Linked DNA regions of Homo sapiens: regions 2, 3, 4 and 5 are each linked to region 1. Evidence: promoter capture Hi-C in 16 types of primary human blood cells and fetal thymus (Javierre and others, 2016). All regions are on one chromosome and are shown on one strand. The core of a region is centred on a gene start or on the middle of the fragment in contact, and the rest is flanking DNA. Distances in the headings are between cores, read along the strand shown.

Evidence for each region. The method cuts DNA at HindIII sites, captures the fragments that hold promoters and counts their contacts. A CHiCAGO score of 5 or more calls a contact.
Region 2: a fragment that was not itself captured here is called in contact with the fragment with the promoter of LINC00692 in region 1 in 2 of 17 cell types (total CD4 T cells and activated CD4 T cells); the score reaches 5.8 in total CD4 T cells.
Region 3: a fragment that was not itself captured here is called in contact with the fragment with the promoter of LINC00692 in region 1 in 10 of 17 cell types (naive CD4 T cells, total CD4 T cells, naive CD8 T cells and 7 more); the score reaches 8.6 in naive CD4 T cells.
Region 4: a contact is called between a fragment that was not itself captured here and the fragment with the promoter of LINC00692 in region 1, in 3 of 17 cell types (naive B cells, activated CD4 T cells and total CD4 T cells). The highest score is 7.0, in naive B cells.
Region 5: a contact is called between a fragment that was not itself captured here and the fragment with the promoter of LINC00692 in region 1, in 1 of 17 cell types (activated CD4 T cells). The highest score is 5.2, in activated CD4 T cells.

Annotation. Positions count from the first base shown.
Region 1 is chr3:25,872,355-25,875,176 of GRCh38, reverse strand. LINC00692 (long intergenic non-protein coding RNA 692) reads left to right here and starts at 1,482. Exons shown (of 8, transcript NR_034055.1): 1 at 1,482-1,536; 2 at 2,695-2,822. LOC124909357 (a long non-coding RNA gene) reads right to left here and starts at 1,399. Exons shown (of 2, transcript XR_007095849.1): 1 at 1,174-1,399. The HindIII fragment of the contact is 8,581 bases long and covers 1-2,822 here.
Region 2 is chr3:25,630,961-25,633,782 of GRCh38, reverse strand. TOP2B (DNA topoisomerase II beta) reads left to right here. Exons shown (of 36, transcript NM_001330700.2): 9 at 989-1,090; 10 at 1,200-1,337. Among named protein-coding and RNA genes, the nearest start is that of TOP2B, 33 kb to the left of the region's middle. The HindIII fragment of the contact is 4,013 bases long and covers 1-2,822 here.
Region 3 is chr3:25,651,203-25,654,024 of GRCh38, reverse strand. The region is part of intron 1 of TOP2B (DNA topoisomerase II beta); the gene reads left to right. Among named protein-coding and RNA genes, the nearest start is that of TOP2B, 12 kb to the left of the region's middle. The HindIII fragment of the contact is 3,592 bases long and covers 1-2,822 here.
Region 4 is chr3:25,683,081-25,685,902 of GRCh38, reverse strand. No RefSeq gene overlaps it. Among named protein-coding and RNA genes, the nearest start is that of MIR4442, 20 kb to the right of the region's middle. The HindIII fragment of the contact is 642 bases long and covers 1,102-1,743 here.
Region 5 is chr3:25,713,655-25,716,476 of GRCh38, reverse strand. No RefSeq gene overlaps it. Among named protein-coding and RNA genes, the nearest start is that of MIR4442, 50 kb to the right of the region's middle. The HindIII fragment of the contact is 599 bases long and covers 1,051-1,649 here.

The DNA.
Region 1 (2,822 bases), core at 233-2,732:
ATTAAAGTACAGAAATAGCCTTCAGAGAGAATAATAGCCTAATAATATAGGAGATGTTGAAGACTGAAAACACTAAGTCTTAGGGCTCTTATACGAAAGGCATGTGGCAGGGAATCTTTGTTTTTCACCGTGAAGGGGAAAAATTCAGATTTTAGGCATAAATATACCTCCATCCTGATGGGAAGGAGACACCAATGGGAGCAAGTTAATAAAATTAAAACCTAAAAAGGACTGGGTAGAAGTGGGGTCAAGATAGGAAAGCCAAACATTCAGGTTTCCTCTGCATTCGCATCAATTATCTGTACGTCAAGTGGTAAAGGCAGCAGCTACGGAAGCTAAGCTAACAGTTATTGCCGGGCGCGGTGGCTCATGCCTGTAATCCCAGCACTTTGGGAGGCCGAGGCGGGCACATCATGAGGTCAGGAGATCGAGACCATCCTGTGAATGGTGAAACTCCGTCTCTACTAAAAATACAAAAAATTAGCCAGGCGTGGTGGCGGGCACCCGTAGTCCCAGCTACTCAGGAGGCTGAGGTGGGAGAATGACGTGAACCCGGGAGCAGAGTTTGCAGTGAGCCAAGATTGCACCACTGCACTCCAGCCTGGGAGACAGAGCGAGACTCCTCTCAAAAAAAAAAAAAAAAAAAAAAACAGTTATTAGAGGTAGTTCAAAGGCCTGGAGGCCAAACTTTGAAAGCAGAGGTGATGAAAGTCTTGGGTACCAGGGATCAAGAGCAAGTCAAGCATCTGAAACACAAAAAGGTCAACGCAGAGGTAAAGAGGACAACAGGATTTCAGTGGCCAAAGTACACATGAATACAGAATTGTGAATGTCATATGGAGCAAAACACTGGCAACAAGAATAAGAATGCAAGAATGTCTGATTTGTGAAAGAATCATGATATGTTATGAAAATTGATACTTTCTGATTTCTTCTATACATCTTACTAATTATAAATTATTCTGAGTTGACCAGTAAATGCAGAAAGTATTTAAACCAGCCAGAGCCCAGGAGTGTTCTGGATACAGGTGAGCTCTGTTGGCATCTGGAACAGAAGAACTGGATGTGGCAGATTGCACCTTCCAAAGATGATCACCATAGTATCTCCTATCTAATACGCTGTTCCGCAATATGACTTTGACATTTCCTCATCAAGAAGTGGAGTCTTATTACCTTACTCTGGGCTTGGCTTTACTGGCTTGTTGAACCAGCAGAATATGACAGAAGTGACACTCCAACCTCTGAAAAGACTGTAAAAACACCTTGCAATTTCTACCTGAGCCTCTTAAAAGGATCACTCTTGGGATGCTGTCTCTGAGGACTGTGGCCATATGAAAGGTCTCAGCCACATGAAAAGGTTATTGGTTGGTGTTCAGGCATGTAGCTCCAGCAGAACTCCTAGGAAACAGTCATCATCAACTGCCAGCCATGCCACATTCCAACTCAACTGAACCTTTAGACGAATGTAGCCCTAGCCTCTATTTGACTTCAACTACAAGAGAGATGCCAAGCTGAGACCAGTTAAGCCACAGAACTGTGAGATATAAAAATAAATTGTTATTTTAAGCCATGTGTTTCAAGGCGGCTTGCTATGTAGCAATAGATAATCAGTACCTAGGGTTACAGGGATGATTTTTTAAATTATCTCTATCTATGGCTAGTAATACTGGGGCCATGACACTTACAGTTATCAACTCCAGCAGACTCAGAAATTCACTCAGCTCCCCTACTCCACCCTTTTTGGTTCTCCAATAAAATGTTTGGTGATGGATGGCTCTGGAAGTTAAATGAGACTTGGTATTACCTGGGAAATTTTGATTTGCAGCAACTCCACAATGACTATTATTGCACATAACTGAGATGTGACTAGAGCCTGGAACAACTGAAAACGCAGAAAAGTCTGTATTATAAGACCAGGGTGGAGAGCAAGTACTGAAGATAACTGAGTGATCACTAAAATACATCAGAGAATCCACACTCTCGTGATAAGTGGCATTTGAAGGGAGAAATTTTCCAGAGAGATAAATGAGACCTTTCTCAATTAATATCAGTACTTGTGTTGCTTGTTATATTGTTGCATTTCCTCCTGAAATATTACAGGCACCAGGCTATTTCACTTACCTCCAAACCTTCAATTGTTTAGTCTCTGTTAATGCAAGGTCATAATGCAGAACACAGATCCTCAGTTTACAGTCAATCCTCAATTATTCAAGGCTTATGGAGTTACAGCGCAGTCCAGTAGATCTCTGCTTAAATATTGGTTTCATTGACATTTGGACACATCTGGAAATTCAGTCTGCTTAATTTTGATTTTGCTGACATCACAACTCAGTTATTTGAACTCTAAATACCTAATCACCTCTAGTGCAAGTTTGAGCTAGATGGACGGCAGGAGAGAAGTAAACATTTATAGATTGTCTTTTGCATTTTACATACATTATCTAATTTAGTCCCCACAGCAATTCAATGAGATATTACTATCCTTATTTCATAGAAAATGAAACTCAGGCTCAGAAAGTTCAACTTAAGTTTGCTTCCTTCCCCATTTTGTTGCTTAACAATATAATTAAGAGAATAGACTCTAGAATCAAACAGACTGGAATTATCTTTTTATCATAATATGTTTTTATTAAAATGAGTTTTTAAATGTATAGTTTATCTGTTTTTATATCTGGCAGTTTCTCTATGATTTAGCTTTCAGAAAAGTCATATTGTTCTCAAATGACCTAGCTTTTACCTTCGTTAACTCAAACCTGCACCCATCTGAAGTGAAACCAGCAACCATTTAACAGCAAACAGTAGCAGCAGCATGCACCAAAAGA
Region 2 (2,822 bases), core at 204-2,703, 240 kb after region 1:
TACAAAACAAATAACAATATCCACAACCCCCAAAAAACCCAAATCTGTTTTTGTTAAATAAGAATTGACTTATGAAAACAAAAACCTATTTTCTATGAAATTGCTGTATTAAAATTTATTTAAACAATTATTGAGAAATAAATTTATATGACTAGTGTTTGTAGTTGAACATATTTATATTTTATGAAATTTAGAATAACAAATTCCTTTTTCTGTAACTTTTAGCCCCACCTTCCCCAACCTCTGGGGAGAGGAGAGGGGGCTGGTGACTGAGTTAAAAATCAATTATGGCTATGTGATAAAGCTCTGTAAAAACTCCTGAACAATGGAGTTCACAGAACTCCTAGGTTGGTGAATACATTTGAGGTGCCAAGAGGGTGGCATGTCTGGGTAAGGCATGGAGCTTTGTGTACCCTTTCCCCTGTACTATGCCCTATGCATCTCTTCCATTTGGCTATTATTGCTGGATCCTATATAAAAAACTTGTAAATGAAGTAAAGTGTGTTCTTGAGTTCTGTGACCTGTTCCAGCAAATTATCATTCCTGAGGAGTGGGTCATAGGTTCGTTAGAAGTACAGGAGGCCTAGGACTTGTAACTGGCATCTGAAGTGTGGGGAGTCCTGTGGGATTGAGCCCTTAACCAACCCTAAATACTTGTGCTAACTCCAGGTAGTTAGTATCAAAATTGAATTACATTGTTGAACATCCATTTGGTGTCTGGAGAATCAGAGAATTGGTTGCTGGTGTTGAAAGCACCTGAGAATTGGTGTTAGAATTGAAGTGAGGAAAGCAAACAAACAAACAAACAAAAAAAACACAGCGGTTGGTTTATTGGCTCTGTAGCCAAAATGTCTTATTTTTTTAAAATCTCAACTCTCGTTCTGAGACTCTATTACTCTTTTAGAAAATAGGGTTTATAATACAGATAAAGTATTTTGCTACTTTAACAATACAGGATTTCAGATTTCATATATTTTTTTTTCTTTAGGGTGGACGGCACGTGGATTATGTGGTAGATCAAGTTGTTGGTAAACTGATTGAAGTAGTTAAGAAAAAGAACAAAGCTGGTGTATCAGTGAAACCATTTCAAGTAAGGGATGTGTTATATATTGTACATGATGCATACATATGCATTATATATATACTGAATTACTAAATATCAGCTCTGATATTGACTTTTTTGGGTATGTTTTCAACAGGTAAAAAACCATATATGGGTTTTTATTAATTGCCTTATTGAAAATCCAACTTTTGATTCTCAGACTAAGGAAAACATGACTCTGCAGCCCAAAAGTTTTGGGTCTAAATGCCAGCTGTCAGAAAAATTTTTTAAAGCAGTGAGTAAAACTTGTATTTTTTTTATTGTTGTTATTAAGAGTTGATTAGGTAGTTTTCTTGATTTACTTTATTTGTGATTAGTTTCTTTCATCGTATTAACTGTGGGTATAAGCATGCTTGCACTACAAACTAATATGCTTAATTTGATAACTTTAAAGGGTAGACTTTAATGTTTCCTAAAACAATTGTTTTGCCAAGAACTAAAGTAGGGAATTATGTAACTAATTGCATTTTTAGCTTTGTATTGACCATTGTAAAGGTCAGATTTCCCCTAACAGATGTCCAGATCCTTATGCAACTCTTTCATCTTTTCTACTCTCATTTCAACTTGATCTACTGATTCTTATCTTTATACATGTTTAAAAATTGTGGTAACATGTATAACAAAATGTACTATTTTCTACATGTTCTTAAATTGCTTTGCTTTGCACATAATTTTTTTAGGCTACCTTAACTTCTCTAAAATAAGGTGAGAGCACAAATAAATAATGGAGATGAATCAATCACAGCCTCTCCTCTTTGGAATTTTGGTGGGGAAATGCTCTATAACTGCCCTAGAACTAATGTATTTCTCAAATTCCAAAAAGTAGATTATCAGAAACAAAAACAAAAGTTGTTTTTTAGGTTCTAACTTAAGGCCTGTAGAAATAGTACTTTTGGATCTAATCTTAATGAATTCTGAGTACAAATTATGCTATATTAATGCTTTCCCAAATTTCTGTCCTCATAACAATTGTTTCCTTGATGAAGTGATTTGATTTTAAATTTTATACTTTTTCATTTTAGGTGCACTAAGTTTAAATTTGACAACACAGTTCACCTCTTTTGTTTATGTCTTAAACATTCCAGAAAACTGTTTTATACACCTAACATCAAATCACCGAGGATGATAAAAAAACTTTTAGGACTTAGAGTTGGAGATGCTTAACTTTCTTTTCCTTTTTCTGTCTGGGTTAACATCTTGCCACAGATTGATTCACTGCAGAGTACAAACAATATGTAATGTTGAAATCTTTATTACCAAGCTATTTAAAGAATAAAAGTCTATTCATAAGTTACCAAGGTTATCCTAATGTTCCTTTTAGGTTAATACTTTTTGTCATAGTGAATTAAAGACTCACGTTTTGTATTGAAGGATATCAGAAATGTCAACGTCTGGAATTTGCCGGCTAGTAGGTTCATGTGTGGATCTGTTTTCACTGTGTTAATTTTAATAAAATTAATTTGTAACAAGAGCAATGCATATTCCTCATGGAGTTTATTATAATAGAATGTTTCTCATATGTAAAAGTTATCCTTTTTCATGTATTTATATTTTAGCTTTAATTTTACAGTAGTTGAGTAAAAGCTGATTAGCATGTATCATGATGCTTATCACCATTATTGTTTTGCCCTAAAATACCTTAAAATTGCACAGATTCCAGGTCTTGCATTAGGCCCTATACATTTTAGCTAAATGTATGAATTTTCAGCTTGTTTGTATA
Region 3 (2,822 bases), core at 96-2,595, 220 kb after region 1:
TTTTTAGTCTTTCACCAGTATATGTGCTGTTAGCTGTTGGCTTTGTGTGTATTGCTTTTATTATATTGAGGTGTTTTCTTTCTATTTCTAGTTTGTTATGTGTTTTTATCAGGAAAGTGTGTTGAATTTTGTCAAATGCTTTTTGCACATCAATTGAGATGATAATGTGTTTTTTGCCCTTCATTTTGTTAATATAGTGTAGTACAATGATTTGTTTTCATATTTGGAAACATCCTTGCATTTCAAGTATAAATCCCATTTGCTTATTGTGTGTAATCCTTTTAATGTGCTGTTGGGTCAGGCATGGTGGCTCCTGCCTGTAATCCCAGCACTTTGGGAGGCCAATGCAGGAGAATCGCTTGCGGCCAGGAGTTTAAGACCATCCTGGACAATATGGTAAAACCTTGTCTCTAGAAGAAATTTTAAAATTAGCCAGGTGTGGAGGCACACAGTTGTAGTACTAGCTACTTGGGGCAGGGGTTGTGGGGTATTAAGGAGGAGGGTGGGTGTGCTGAGGTGGGAGGATCACTTGAGCCTGGGAGGTTGAGGCTGCAGTGAGCCATTGTCATGCCACTGCACTCCAGTGTGGGCAACAAAATGAGACCCTCTCTTAAAAAAAAAAAGTGCTATTGAATTGAGTTTGCCAGTATTTTTGGGGGGATTTTTTGCATCAGTCTTTATCACGGGTATTGTTCTGTAGTCCTCTTGTTCTGTCTTCTAGTTTTTGTATCAGAGAAATGCTGGCTTCATAGAATGATTCTGGAAGTGTTCCCTGCCCCTCATTTTTTGGTAAGAGTTTGAAGAGTTAATTCTTCTTTGATTATTTGGTAGAATTTTCAAGTGAAGCCATCTGGTACTGGGCTTTTCTTTGTTGGGAAGTTTTTGATTACTGTTTCATCTTCTTATTTGTTATAGGGCTGTTGAGATTTTTTATTCATGATTCAGTCTTGGTAGATTATATGTTTGGAATGTATTCATTTCTTCTAGGTTATCTAATCTGTTGCCATATGTGTGGTCATGTAAGTCTTTTATAATCTTTATTTCTGTGACATCAATTATAATGTCCCCTTTCGTTTCTAATTTTAGTTATTTGATTATCTCTTTTTTTTCTTATGTAATCTAGCTAACGATTTGTCAGTTTTGTTAATTTTTTCAAAAAACAAACTCTTGGTTTCATTGATTTTTTTTCCTCATTGTTTTTCTATTCTCTATTTTATTTATCTTTGTTTTAATCTTTATTTCCCTTCATTAATTTGGTTTAGTTTCTCTTTTCCTAGTTCTTTGAAAGGGTCTAAAGTTAGGTTGTTAATTCGAGATCTTTACTGATTGTTAATGTTAGGTGTAATACTGTTTTAGCTGCATTACATAAATATTGCTCTATTGTGTTTTGGTTTTCATTTGTCTCCTGATATTTTCTAAATTCGCTTGTGATTTCATCTCTCACCCATTGGTTATATGAGAGTGAGTTGTTTAACTTCCACTTATTTGTGGATTTTACTGTTTTCCTTCTACTATTGATTTCTAGTTTAATTCCATTTTTGATGGAAAATATACCTTATATGATTATAGTCTTCTTAAGTTTGTTAAGACTTGTTTTGTCACGTAACATGTGGTCTTTGTTGGAGAATGTTCCAAGTGCAATTGAAAAGAATGTGTATTCTCCTGTTGTTGATTGGAGTGTTCTGAGTATGTCTGTTAGGTCCAATTGGTCTATAGTGTTGTTCAAGTTCTTTGTGTCTTTATTGATCTTCTGTGTGGTTGTTCTATCCATAACTGAAAGTGGGCTAGTGAAGTCTCCTACTATTATTGTGTTGGTCTCTCTCTCCCTTCACTTCTGTCAGTGTTTGCTCATAAATTTGGGAACTGTAATGTTAGATGCATATCTTACTGGTGAATTGACCCTTTTATCATATAATGTCCTACTCTGTCTCTTGTGACAGTTTTTATCTTAAACTCTATGTTGTCTGATGTAAGTACGGCCACTCTCTTCAGATTCCAGTTTTCTGGAATATCTTTTTCCATCCTTTTATTTGTAGCCTTTGTGCATCTTTGGATCTGAAGCAGATGTCTTGTAAACAACCTGTAGTTGGATCTTATTTTTTTATTCCATTGGCCAATCTATGTCTTTTATTTGGGCACTTAATCTTTTTTTTTTTTTTTGAGACACAATCTCCCTCTGTTGTCCAGGCTGAAGTACAGTGGCACAATCTTGGCTCACTGCAACCTCTGCCTCAGGTTCAAGTGATTCTTCTGCCTCAGCCTCCCGAGTAGCTGGGATTACAGGTGGCTGCCACCATGCCTGGCTAATTTTTGTATTTTTAGTAGAGATGGCGTTTTACCATATTGGCCATGCTGGTCTCTTAACTCCTGACCTCAAGTGATCTGCCCACCTTGGTCTCCCAAAGTGCTGGAATTACAGATGTGAGCCACCGCTCCTGGCCCAATTTATATTTAAAGTAATTATTGACATGGACTCACTATTGCCATTTTGATTATTTTTTTATATGTCTTATAGCTTTTTTGTCCATCTTTCTTCCCTTGCTGCCTTCTTTTGTGTTTCATTGATTTTTTTTTTTTTTAGTGACATGTTTTGATTTTCTTCTAATTTCTCTTTGTGTATATTCTACAGATATTTTCCTTGACTTTACCTTGCCATTACATAACATATCTTCAGGTGATAAAAATAAATTTTAAATTAGTAACTTCAATGCCATATGAAAACTCTTCCTTTTTTCACCTCTGCCCTCCCCTGCTTTGTTTTTGATGATACTTTACCTCTTTTTATATTGTGTATATTTTAACACAGATTTAGAATTATTTTT
Region 4 (2,822 bases), core at 173-2,672, 190 kb after region 1:
CTTGGAGCCAAGGACATTTGTCTTCCTTTCCATGGTGCCTATAAAATGATGGTTATGTGGTTGGTGTTCAATAAATACTTGTAGGTTGGTTTATTTAAGGCCTAGACTCCCTGTTTGTAGCTCTCTTTAAACTTGAACCCTAACTCATAGCTCTTTTTAACCTGATATTTAGCCTAATTGAAATTACTTTAATTGTTATACATTGTTGATGAAATATACCTCTACAACTCTAAGAAGAGCTAGAAATTTAAACTATAGCTTTTATTTTGTTTTTTACATCCTAACGTCTTTTTCTTTTTTTTTTTTTTACTAAAAATAGGACATTGTGTGACTTCATGTTGTTGCTTTAAAAAAAATACAGGACATTGCTTAAAGTCCTGATTTGTAATTACAGTAAGAGTAAGTCAAAATCTTATATTGCAAAATAGCTAAGCATAGATTTTTTTCTTTTTTCAAAAATGAACTCAGCTTCAATTTTAAGAGTCCTCCTGTGACTACCAGGGATTCAGCTCCATAAAATCCCATAAAATCTCTTCTATAAAATGATTCCATCCCTGCTGTGTGCATTTATTTTCTGCTTCTTCCTCTAGTTCACTGTTTTAATGTGGGGTTCAAGGACTACTTGCATTGAAATTGTCTGTACTGCTTGTTGTATAGATTCTTGACCCTCCTCTCAAGTCCTTCTATATCCCAACCAGGGCAGTGAGGGTGGCAGCTTGTCACCCACATTTTTTTCTCCAGATGCTTCTTAAAGAAGCTAAATTTGAATACATTGTTACTGCTATTTTCTTAGCTGTGGTTCTCTTGTTCAACTTCCAGCTCTGGATTGGCTTTATATTTCTGTTTCTATTCTTCATCTTCCATACCCTACCCCTGCTTCCAACTTTGGCACTTCGCTAACAACTCTCTTCTCTCAGTCATGGTCTCATGCTCTACCTGCTAACATGGAAATTTGGGAGTAGCCACTGTTACAAGATTGCTTTCCCTCCTCACTTTAGTCTCTGTAGCCATAGTCACCAGAGACGCTAAAAACCATTCTATTTGGTGTGTGTAGTGCGATAGATCAGTGCTACTCACAGGAGACTATGAATGAGATAAGCTTGTGCTTGGATAAGCAGCACACTTTCTTTTCAAGAAAGTCTTGTTACATTTTTATAGTGGTGCAAGCTCCTTAGCGCTTTGTGGACCAATAACCCATGGTCCATGGAAGCAACCATTCCACTGAGCACATTTTGAGGCCTGTGCTACAGATTTTTGGGGGAAATGGCTTCACTGAGATATAATTAATATACCATAAAATTCACCCATTTCAAGGTTACACAAAGTATATTCAAAGAGTTGTGCAACCCTCACCACAGTCAATTTTAGAACATTTTCATCACCTTGAAAAGAAACCCTGTGCCCTTAAGCTGTCACTCCCAATCCTCCAATCCTGTCCTCCCCCAGGCTTAATAAATCACTAATATACTGTCTGTCTATATTTGCCTCTTCTGGATATTTCATATAAATGAAATCATATAATATGTGATCTTTCATGGCTGGCTTCTTTCATTTTAGCATGTTTTCAAAATTTGTCCATATTGTAGCTTGTAATAGTATTTCATTCATTTGATGGCCAAATAATATCCCATTACGTAGATATACCACATTTTGTTTATTCATTCATCCATTGATGGGTATTTGGATTGTTTCCACCTTTTGGATACTGTGAATAATACTGCTATGAACATCCACGTACAAGCTTTTTTTGTGAGCATATGTTTTCACTTCTCTTGGGTATACAGCTAGAAGTGAAATTGCTGAGTCAAATGATGGTTCTGCATTGAAATTTCTGAGGAACTGTCAAACTTTTCCACCATTTTACATGCCTACCAGCAGTGTATGAGTGTTCTTCACTCCACTTTCTGGCCAACATTTACTAGCCTCCATGTCTTTGGTTATAGCCATTTTACAGGTGTGAAGTGGAAGCTCATTGTGATTTTCATTTGTGTTTCCCTGATGACTATTGATATAGAGCATCTTTTCATGCATTTATTGGCTATTTGTATATCTTCTTTGGAGAAATGTCAATTCAGATTTTTTAATTGAGTTACTTGTTTTATTATTGGGGATTGTAAGAGTTTTTCACTGAAAACAAGTCCATTAGATATGATTTGCAAATATTTTCTCCCATTCCATGGGTTGTCTTTTCACTCTCTTAATGGTATCCTTTGCAGCACAAAAGCTTAATTTTGATAAAGTCCAATTTATTTATTTTTACTGAGGCTCATGGGTTTGGTGTTTAAGAATTTATTGCGAAATCCAAGTTCATAAATATTTATCCCTATATTTTTATCTGAGAGTTTTATAGTTTTGACTCTCCCATTAAGGCCTTTGATCCATTTGGGATTAATTTTTGTATATAATGTGAAGTAAGGGTCCAACTTTAGTCTTTTGCATGTGGCTATCCAGTTGTTTCAGCACCATTTGTTGAAAAGACTATTCTTTCCCTATTGAATGATCTTGGCACCCTGGTTGAAAATCATTTGACTGTAGATATATGGGTTTATTTCTGGACTCTCAATTCTATTCCATTGACTTATATGTCTATTCTTATGCCAGTTCCTTACTGTCTTCATTACTGTGGCTTTCTAGTAAGTTTCCAAATTGGGAAGTATTGATCTTTTTTTTTTTTCTTTTTGAGACGGAGTCTCGCTCTGTCGCCCAGGCCGGAGTGCAGTGGCGCAATCTTGGCTCACTGCAAGCTCCGCCTCCTGGGTTCACGCCATTCTCCTGCCTCAGCCTCCCCAGTGGCTGGGACTACAGGCGCCCGCCACCACGCC
Region 5 (2,822 bases), core at 101-2,600, 160 kb after region 1:
TTAATATCATGAAAATGGCCATACTGCCCAAAGTAATTTATAGATTCAATGCTGGTCCCATCAAACTACCATTAACATTGTTCACAGAATTAGAAAAAAATTAAATTTCATATGGAACCACAAAAGAGTCCGTATAGCCATGACAATCCTAAGCAAAGAGAACAAAGCTGGAGGCATCATGTTCCCTGACTTCAAACTATACTACAAGGCTAGAGTAATCAAAACAGCATGGTATTGGTACTAAAACAGACATATAGACCAATGGAACAGAACAGAGACCTCAGAAAAATACACATCTACAACCATTGCGACAAACCTGACAAAAACAAGCAATGGGGAAAGAATTCCGTATTTAATAAATGGTCCTGGGAAAACTGGCTAGCCATATGCAGAAAACTGAAACTGGTCCCCTTCCTTATACAAAAATTAACTCAAGATGGATTAAAGACCTAAAACACTTTACTTTTTTTGTTTTGTTTTGTTTTGTTTGTTTGTTTGTTTTTGAGACCGAGTCTCATTCTGTCACCCAGGCTGGAGTGCAGTGGCACAATCTTGGCTCACTGCAAGCTCTGCCTCCCGGGTTCACTCCATTTTCCTGCCTCAGCCTCCCAAGTAGTTGGGACTACAGGCGCCCACCACCACGCCTGGCTAATTTTTTGTATTTTTAGTAGAGACGGGGTTTCACCGTGTTAGCCAGGATGGTCTCGATCTCCTGACCTCATGATCTGCCTGCCTCGGCCTCCCAAAGTGCTGGGATTACAGGCGTGAGCCACTGCGCCCAGCCAAAAACACTTTTCATAAATATATTTCATGAGATTTTCAACCCTGAGCCTACCCAATATATGTTAGTAGATATTTTATTATTCAGAAAAGTTTGGAAATGGTACAGAAGGTATGGGACAACACAGTTCTTGATGATGTGAAAAGTTAAGTGACAGTAAACTGGTAAGGCAAAAGTAACTTAGGCAAAGAATGGCCGATAGTACAGACCCCTCAGTGAGCGACCAATATTAAGGTACATTTTATTTAGGATCTTCTGATTAATAAGCTTTCCACTGCCATTGCACATTATTTAAAAAGAATCTATACCCTGGTTTCAGGTCAGATCCCATCATGATGAATTCCACAGACACTGCTTGTTGCTGCAGTGTTTTATTTTTAAGAAAGTCCTTTGCTGGAAACCACATTCTCATGGTGAACGAGAAGTACATCTGATGCTTTGATCAATTCACAAGGAAAATAGTGCTTCTGATTAAAGGAGGGCCAGAGAACACTTTGTCATAGAACACTTCTGAGATAGAAAGGGTTGTTAGAGATAATTTAACCCAGATTTCTTACTTTTCCAATGAGGAAAACTCAAGCCCAGAGAAGGGAAATGACCTGTCCTGACAATTCAATGAATCAGTGGTGTAGGCAAGATTCATTTCTACATCTATCAAGTTGCAAGTTTATAGAATCAGAGACCTGTAAGTGGGTTGCTGTTTTAATAGGTGTTATGTGAATATAGATACTTTAATAGAAATGTTCAAGTTGAGAAGGTGTTACAATTGAAGTTAGAAGTTATTAATATTGAAATATAGAAACTTTAATAGAAATGTTCAAGTTGAGGTGTTATAATTGAAATTGATTTTTCTAACCATAGTTAAGCTTTTCTAAAGACTTTTTTTCGTCTACAACAATAAGTTGTGTTTTGATTTTATAGTACCAGCAGATACACTCTTCATAAACTAATAACGGATCCAGGTAGCACACCTTCCTTAAATACTTTTGGGAGAAGAAGAGGAAACCAATACAGGTCATGATTGGTTTTATTTCTCTTAGCATGTATTCAGTTACACTCTGCATATTGACCAAAACAGTTTTATTTCTAATAAGAGATTTAGAATAGACCTAAACCAATAGTCACCACTTTTTGAGTTTTTCCTAAGTGCCAGTGACTTTCATTGTCTCATTTGATCATGATGGCATTGTACAGTAGATACTGTATCTTATCCCCATTTTATAGATGATGAAACTGAAGAATTAAGTGGGAGCCAGTATTTTAATGGCTGTGTGTCCAACACCCCTTTCCTATTTCTTAAGCCACAGTGAAAACAGACTTAGAAGTTGCGACCTTGCTCTCTTCTCTCTTAGTTTTCTGAAGACTTGCTCTGGGCATAACGAAATTGTTTTAAAACGATATAACAAAATATTATAAAGTAAAAGTGCTGCCTCCACTTCCCATGCTCTACATTATTTTCCAAGTTAACTGCCAAAAATTTTACATGTGTCCTTCTAAAGGTTTCCTGTGGATTTTCATGTCTATATATGTATACACAGAAACATATACACACACACAGTTTTCATGTGTTTGCTTTTTTATGTAAATGAAAGTATATCCTTTTCCCGCTTGTTTTTTAACTGAAATCATTCCTTGGTCAGTCATGGTTCTGCTACACTTATTTTTAACTGCTTCACAGAATTCCGTAATTTATCCATTCTATTATTTACAGATATTTAGATTTTTCCCTTTTTTTGGTTATTAAAAGCCCTGCTACAATCAGCATCCTTCTACACATTTCTCTTACATAAAATACATGCAAAGGTATGTGCATTTTAAATCTGACTAGCTACTGTCAAATTGCCCTCTAAAGATAATTTACACACCCAGCAGTAGTGGTTGAGAACACCGATTTCCTCCCATTCTTACCGAAACTGAATATCGCAGCTGTGGTAGCCAACCACCAGAGATCCCCGCCGCTTAGCTTCCATACCCTTTGGGTTGTCCCTTTTATACTAAATTAGAGCTAGCCCATGTGTCCAATAGAATATAGTGAGTAATA